Linked DNA regions of Homo sapiens: region 1 is linked to region 2. The links are contacts of gene promoters, found by promoter capture Hi-C in blood cells and fetal thymus (Javierre and others, 2016). All regions are on one chromosome and are shown on one strand. Each heading gives the region's core, a stretch centred on a gene start or on the middle of the fragment in contact. The rest is flanking DNA. Distances are from core to core; before and after follow the strand shown.

Region 1 (3,746 bases), core at 108-2,607, 310 kb before region 2:
ATCTGACTATACTTACTGAGCATATGCTATATGCCATACACTGTCCTAATGATGAATGTGAATTAACTCATTTAATCCTCACCATAACTCTAGGAGGTAGGTGCTGTTATTTCCATTTTTATACTCAAAGTGAATGAGACAGAGCAGTTAAGTAACTTACCCAAGGTCATAGAGTAGAAATAGCTTTCAAACCCAGTCTCGCTTGAGTCCTGCGTTTTTTGTTTTTTTGTTTTTTTTTTTTTTGAGACATTGTTTTGCTCTTGTTGTCCAAGCTGAAGTACAGTGGCACGATCTCAGCTCACTGCAACCTTCGCCTCCCGGGTTCAAGTGATTCTCATGCCTCAGCCTCCGGAGTAGCTGGGGTTACAGGTGCCTGCCACCACACCCGGCTAATTTTTGTATTTTTAGTAGAGACGGGGTTTCACCATGTTGGCCAGGCTGGTCTCAAACTCCTGACCTCAGGTGATCCACCCACCTCAGCCTCCCAAAGTGCTGGGATTACAGGTGTGAGTCACAACGCCTGGCAAGTCCTACCCTTAAGCTACATGCCATCCTTCCACTCATTGGGACCTCAAAATGTTAGCTGTTATAATTTTACAGTGACTATTACTAGGGGTAGTGAGAAGCCATGACTACGATGTTTACATTCTCGTACATGACAGCTGCAACGAGATGTATTAAGAGAGACCTGAGATGAGACTTACCCAGTGAGGCGGTTTCGGATAATTTTGACGCTCATTACGGTCTCCCCCATGGTGGCAAAGGCTCTGGAGATGAAGTTCTCATCCATGTAGGGTTCCAGCTGCGTAAAAACAAGAGCACAGCGGCTCAGGCCGGCGGCCGGGCTTCCCACTCCGGGTTCCAGAGCCCCTCCCGTTCAGCCCAGGGCTGGCTACGCGCCGCTGGGGGAGCGAGGGGCGAGGTTCGCCTCCACTGAGCGGCCTGAAACCCCAGCTCTTTTGGTTCAAGCTTGCCCCGCTTTAGGGAGCCTCCCCTTGGACCTAGAAACCCCACTCCTCCGGTCCCAGAACAGCGCGCCTCAGTCCTTGGATTGCTCCCATTCTATGTCCCCAAAGCACCACCTTTCCCTCCCACGAACCCAGGTGGGGCCCCAGGACCCCTAGCCTCACGGACTCAGCCTCTTCACTTAGATGCTGGAACCCGCTTCTGTGTCACCAAAAAGAACCCCCGTCACACGTCTCCCCTTTCTGGGATCCCAAGTCCCCTCCCACTCAGATCCTTCCTCTCTCGCGAAACCGAGATGCTTCCTTGTCTTCAGACCCCGGACGGCTGCCCTCACTCACGTCGCCCATCCACAGGCTGGCCGCCATACCCGCGCACCGGGGTGGGGCTTTGCGGGCGGGGCTCTGCGGGCGGGGCTCGAAGGCCCGCGCGGGCGCCAATCCTGGCTGCGGAGACCGCTACAGAGCATGCGCCTCCGACGGCTTCTGCGCAGGCTCCCGAGCGCAGCGGCCCGGGTCGGGCAGTGTGTTCAGCTCCGGGTTTTTCCTGCAACCCACTGGGCGCTAGGCTTCCGGATCGCGGTGGGCGGAGTTCAGGCTGGAATGGGGCGGGCCAGATACCACCTGGCCCAGGCGGCTGGGTTACTTGGGTTTATTTCTGACTTTATATATTTAGAAAACAAACAAAACTACACACACACACTCGTCTGACTTTATATAGAAAACAAAACCACACACACACAGACACATATAATTACAACATTAATATATGCTCGTTAGGGCTGGGCACGGTGGCTCACGCCTGTAATCCCAGCACTTGAGGAGGCCGAGGCGGGCGGATCACGAGGTGAAGAAATCGAGACCATCCTCGCCAACAGGGGGAAACCCCCTCTCTACTAAAAGTACGAAAATTAGCGGGCGTGGTGGCGAGCGCTGGTAGTCGCAGCTACTCGGGAGACTGAGGCAGGAGAATCGCTTAAACCCAGGGGGCAGAAGTTGCAGTGAGCCGAGATAGCGCCATTGCACCGCAGCCTGGTGACAGAGCAAGACTCCATATATATACATACACACACACACACACATACACATATATATACACATATATACACATATACACACATAATACACATATACACATATATACACACATACACATATATATACATATATACACACACACACACACATATATATGTATGCTCGTTACTTGGGTTAATTTCTGACTTTACATATTTAGAAAACAAACAAGGCCGGGCGCGGTGGCTCACGCCTGTAATCCCAACACTTTGGGAGGCCGAGGTGGGCAGATCACGAGGTCAGGAGATCGAGACCATCCTGGCCAACATGGTGAAACCCCGTCTCTACTAAAAATACAGAAATTAGCCGGGTATGATGGTGTGCACTTGTAGTCCCAGCTACTCAGGTGGCTGAGACAGGATAATCACTTGAACCCGGGAGGCAGAGGCTGCAGTGAGCCGAGATCGCGCCACTGCACTCCAGCCTGGGCGACAGAGTGAGACTCTGTCTCAAATTAAAAAAAAAACAAAAAACAAAAAACATACACACGTACACACACACACAAACACACACATAATTACAACATTAATATATGCTCGTTGTAAAAAACTGCAGATACAAGTGCATCCAAAAAAGTGAAAATATCCCTCCGGACAACCCGGTTCCACTACCTCCCTATTGTTACCAGGGGTTCTTAGGCTCTCAATCCAACAGAAATTAACATGAGGCCAAAAAAGTTTTCCCAGACAAGTCTTCATTGGAGCTTATGCCTGGGTATAAGGGAGGCAGCACAAGAGAGCGAGAATTCCCTGACTCTCCGAAAAGAGCTGGTTGAGATGTTTTATTGGGCAAAGCACGGAAAGTGATATCAAGTGTAGGGTTTACAGGCTGGGCAGGACAAAGCTCATGAGGGTGGGGTATGAAGGTCAGCATATCCTGTTGTAATGATTATCTTTTTTTTTTTTTTTGAGACGGAGTCTTCCTTTGTCGCCCAGGCTGGAGTGCAATGGCACAATCTCGGCTCAGAATAGCTAGAATCTAGCCTCCTGGGTTCTAGCTATTCTCCTGCTTCACCTCCTGAGTAGCTGGGATTACAGGCGCCCACCACCAGGCACAGCTAATTTTTGTATTTTCAGTAGAGACGGGGTTTCACCATGTTGGTCAGGCTGGTCTCGAACTCCTGACCTGAGGTGATCCACCCACCTCGGCCTCCCAAAGTGCTGGGATTACAGGCGTGAGCCACCCATCGCGCCCAGCCAATGATTATCTTTAGTACTGGGCTACCTGGTAGTTTGGCTGTCAGCAACAAGGCTGTAAATGAAGTTTTCAGCATTTCTTCCTGAGATGAGACATTCCACAACCTTGGTTGGATAATTTGGATCTCCTAAGGCCAGATCCTAGAATTATTTTTATTTTATTTATTTATTTATTTATTCAGTTGGTCAGTCATTCTGAGAGAGGGTCTCTCTCTGTCGCCCAGGCTGGAGCGCATTGGCACAATCTTGGCTTATTGCAGCCTCAAACTCCCGGACTCAAGTGATCCTCCTGCCTCAGCCTCCAGAGTAGCTGGCACTACAGGTGTGCACCCCCACAGCTGGCTAATTTTTTTTTTTTTGCAGAGAGGAGAGCTCACTATGTTGGCCAAGCTCATTTTGGACTCCTAGGCTCAAGCGATCCTCCTGCCTTGGCCTCCCAAAGTGCTGGGATTATAGGTGTGAGCCACAGCGCCCAGCCTCTTTTTTCTTTTCTTTCTTTTTTTTTTTTTTT
Region 2 (3,749 bases), core at 576-3,075:
ATAAATATTTATTTACCATCTTGTGTGTACCAGGCACTGTGCCTGGCTCTGGGAAATCCAGTGGTGAAGCTAGCAGCCTAGCAGGGCATGGCAGGGTGCCACTGGCTGGGCACATTCCTCCCCTCCCCACTGCCTTGTATTTTTGGTTGGGTAAAGATCTCCTTCTTCTGTTGCCACACTCTCAACTCTTGCATCAGCTATGTTGAGGCCACTGATTGGCCAGCTATTTATATTCCTCAATCACCTTCCAGTCCCAAAGATACACCTACCTAGACTGGATTTGAAATGTTTTTGAGATGTCTTCAGCCTTAGATCCATTTCAGATTATGACCCTAATATGATTGTCATCTGTTCTGTATTCATTCTTCCTGAATTAGTTTTCTAGTCTCAAATTCTGAGATCACTTTACTATAATGACCTTGTAATGGGACCATTCGGGGGGCTGTGATTTATCACCCCAGATGTCATTTTCTGAGCTCTTCTTATTGTTTCCCCCCTCCCCACCCACTAATCTCAGATACAATTCCTGCCCAGGGGGAACTTTCAGGAAAGAAGTTCCACTCCAATTGGTTTGATAAAGCCAAAGAAGACCCATCCTTCAAGGCTTAGTCACACATTAATTCAATTACTCATGAAGCAGGCATTGTGCTAGGTGGGGAGGGAGGTCCTTCCTGCACAGAGCTGACAGGTGCCGAGCTGTCAAGCTACACAACCAAAATTGTCCTTTGGAGTTGTGCATTAGCAGGCAGTACAACCACAGACTCCCAGAAACAAAGCCAACTATCTCCTAAGAGCACTTCCCAGGAGTCAGGCAATTCGGGTGCCAGCTTTTAGCCAAGTAACCCAAACTGAATTTTTTTTTTCCAGCTCTTTGAATCTGTTTCCCTATCTGTAAAACAAAGAAATAGAAATTAGCTCTAAACTTGCAGAGTCATTATGGAGAGAACTGGTGCCATAAAGAACTGGCAGTGTATATAATTCGTCTTCTCGATTGCATACTGAGGACAGAAATCTTCAGGTTTGGAAACGTTTACCCTTCTTAAATGCAAAAACTAACGCACTGGGTGCTTTTGGGCAAATTGCTTGGTTGATTTAGTTTAGTTTTGTCGGCTGAGTGGTTCCTCAACGCCCCCTGCAGGCCAGATCCTGCTATAGCTAAGTCAGAATGGAGTAGGAAAGGGCTGGCCCAAACCGTTTTGAGTTTATAGGATTGTTAGGGTCCATGTCACCGCCTGAAGGTCTTGAAAAGAGGCCAGGCAACAGCTAAGTAAAGGTCTGTGGTTGCTGAAGATTCCCCCTGCTGCCAGCAAGGACCAGAGTCCTAAAATACTTCACAGCCCGAATGCACTTTCCATTGTTTTGGCTTACTACCTCTCTTACAAGGCAGGAAGCCTCAGGTCGAGAGAGAGGAATTTGCCCAAGGTTCCCTAGGAAGTTGGCCACAGAGTGGAGACTAGAATCTCGAGGTCCAGGGCTACCTACACCTTAATAGGCTGCCCCAGGAGAGAAGCCTCACATTTTCAGAAAGAACAACTTCTCCCTTTCCTCTGGTCTCCCTTCCTTCCCCAACCCTCCACTCCTAGAGGCTCTATACATCCTATTCTCAGAGAACCACCCTGAGGCTTGTCCCTGGAGCAACGCCTCTGGCCTCCCACCATCCTGTCCTACCTTTCCCTATCCCCAGCGGAATTCTGTACCCCGACCCCCTCCCTAAAAAGGCCACACTTGGAATCAGGATATCGGAGTTGAAGGTTCCAGTTCCAACCCTTTCTTTGTGAACCTCAGCAAAACACTTCACTTCTCTGAACCCGTTTCCTGTTTTTTTGTTTTTGTTTTTCTTTTATTACGTTTTTGTTTTTCTGAGACAGGTCTCGTTCTGTTGCCCAGGCTGGAGTGCAGTGGCGCGATCATAGCTCACTTAAGTTTGGAGCTCCTGGGTCCTCTCACCTCAGCCTTCCGAGTAGCTGGGTCTACAGGACTGCATGTTAAATGTTAAATGGGGCAATAGTTTACCTCCACCGTTCTATTGTGAGAATGAGAGCTTATGCATGGAAACCCCTTAACAAGGCTTGATGCAGATGAAGTGCTCAATAAACTGTAGATTATCTATATTTTTACTGTTATTTTGAAGGATCTGGCTCAGTGACTGGCTGATAGTGGTGGGTGTTCAAGAAAGGTGCCTACAACCATTAATATTAAAAGTTTGGCGCACATAGCCTGGCATTTAGTTGCAGTTTAATAAACTGTGGCTAGTATTGTTTTTTTGACCCCAGGACGCCCAGTGCGGTTTCAGCGTTAACAACTCCTTAGCGAAAATTGCAGAACAGACTTTTCGCTCAGCAACAGGCTCCTCTTACGTAAACCGCACCGGCCAATGAGCAGGAAGATGGGCGGGGTTTCTTGGCAGCCAATAGTAGCCCGCAGCGGCGCGCAGGATAGGCCCAGGCTGGTTTCCAGGCTGCGTACGGAAACGAATCCCCGGGGCTCTTTGACTGGGGGCGAGTCTTCGAAGTCGCCAGGCTCTGCCTATCAACCGGGTCCTGATTGGTGCAGGCTGTGGCGGTCCGCCCCTGACTCCGTCTAGCCCCGCTCCGCGAGAAGAGGCTGAACTGCCCCATCTGCTTCTAATTTCTTTCTTTCTTTCTTTCTTTCTTTTTTTCCCCTCTTTTCCTTTTCTTCTTTTAAATATACGTTTGGAAATTTGCCGGGCGTGGTGGCGGGCGCCTGTAATCCCAGCTACTCGGGAGGCTGAGGCAGGAGAATCGCTTGAATCCGGGAGACGGAGGTTGCAGTGAGCCGAGAACGCGCCACTACACTCCAGCCTGGACGACGAGAGTGATACTCCGTCTCAGTCAATCAATCAATCAATCAATCGTTTGATTTTCGTTTTATGCTTTTACTTCCAAATTTATATTTATTGCAAAAAATGTGGAATATAACAAAGTGTAAAGGTGAAACTGAAATAACCCGAAATTATATTTCCCCCTCTGTGGTTTTTTTTTTTCCGTCTCTGTGTTTTTCAATGTTTTTCAGGCCTTCTGTCTTGAGCTCGTATTACTGCTGTTCACTGATGTATTGTAAAAGCGTAAAACCGGACGTGACCCAAATGTCTATCAAAGGAGACTGATGAGAGAAATAAACGGATTTGTTCACACAACGGCTTCTACAGCAAAGAAACAGAAGGTAGCTCCAAGTGCTCTGAAATGGAAAGGTATGCAGGATTTCCTGTTAGGTTAAAACAGAACGAAGCAAAAACCGAGGTTGCGCAATGATACATATAGAACAGTCTCATAGTTGTATACATAGTTACACAGAGGAAACAAAGATCTGGAAAGATGTGTAGTTTGCACCTGTTACCATTGGTTAGCTCTGGGGTGGACGGAGAAGGGAGAAGTTTTAAGATTCTTTATATAATACACTTATTTAATATCTATCTATGTGCTAAGTTGTATTACATTTGTTGTTTTTTAAAGAGATCCTTTTAAACAGAGAAGGGAGAACTCCCTCAAATCCCAATTGCACTACAAAGAGAAACCAACATGTTGGTTATTTTTATAGCATATAAGTTTATATACCGTATTAATAATGTATAGCTATATAGCCTGCTTTTTCCACTTAGCACATTTCATAATTTTTGTAATATTAAATATTCCTTAAATATAATTGTTAATGGTTGCAGACTATTCATGTATGCTATAATTTATTAATCCTTATTGAGAACATTTAGGGTTTTCTTCCCAATTTTTCAC

Evidence for each region. Contacts are between HindIII fragments. The CHiCAGO score rates a contact against its expected background, and 5 or more counts as called.
Region 1: a contact is called between the fragment with the promoter of TRNAU1AP here and a fragment that was not itself captured in region 2, in 9 of 17 cell types (fetal thymus, endothelial precursors, naive CD4 T cells and 6 more). The highest score is 8.1, in fetal thymus.

Annotation. Positions count from the first base shown.
Region 1 is chr1:28,550,696-28,554,441 of GRCh38, reverse strand. TRNAU1AP (tRNA selenocysteine 1 associated protein 1) reads right to left here and starts at 1,357. Exons shown (of 9, transcript NM_017846.5): 1 at 1,305-1,357; 2 at 705-802. The coding sequence starts at 1,331. RefSeq lists silencers at 51-345, 1,278-1,417 and enhancers at 1,568-1,627, 1,351-1,645. The HindIII fragment of the contact is 4,615 bases long and covers 972-3,746 here.
Region 2 is chr1:28,246,038-28,249,786 of GRCh38, reverse strand. No RefSeq gene overlaps it. Among named protein-coding and RNA genes, the nearest start is that of SESN2, 12 kb to the left of the region's middle. RefSeq lists enhancers at 1,185-1,384, 2,626-2,795, 3,604-3,749. The HindIII fragment of the contact is 6,700 bases long and covers 1-3,749 here.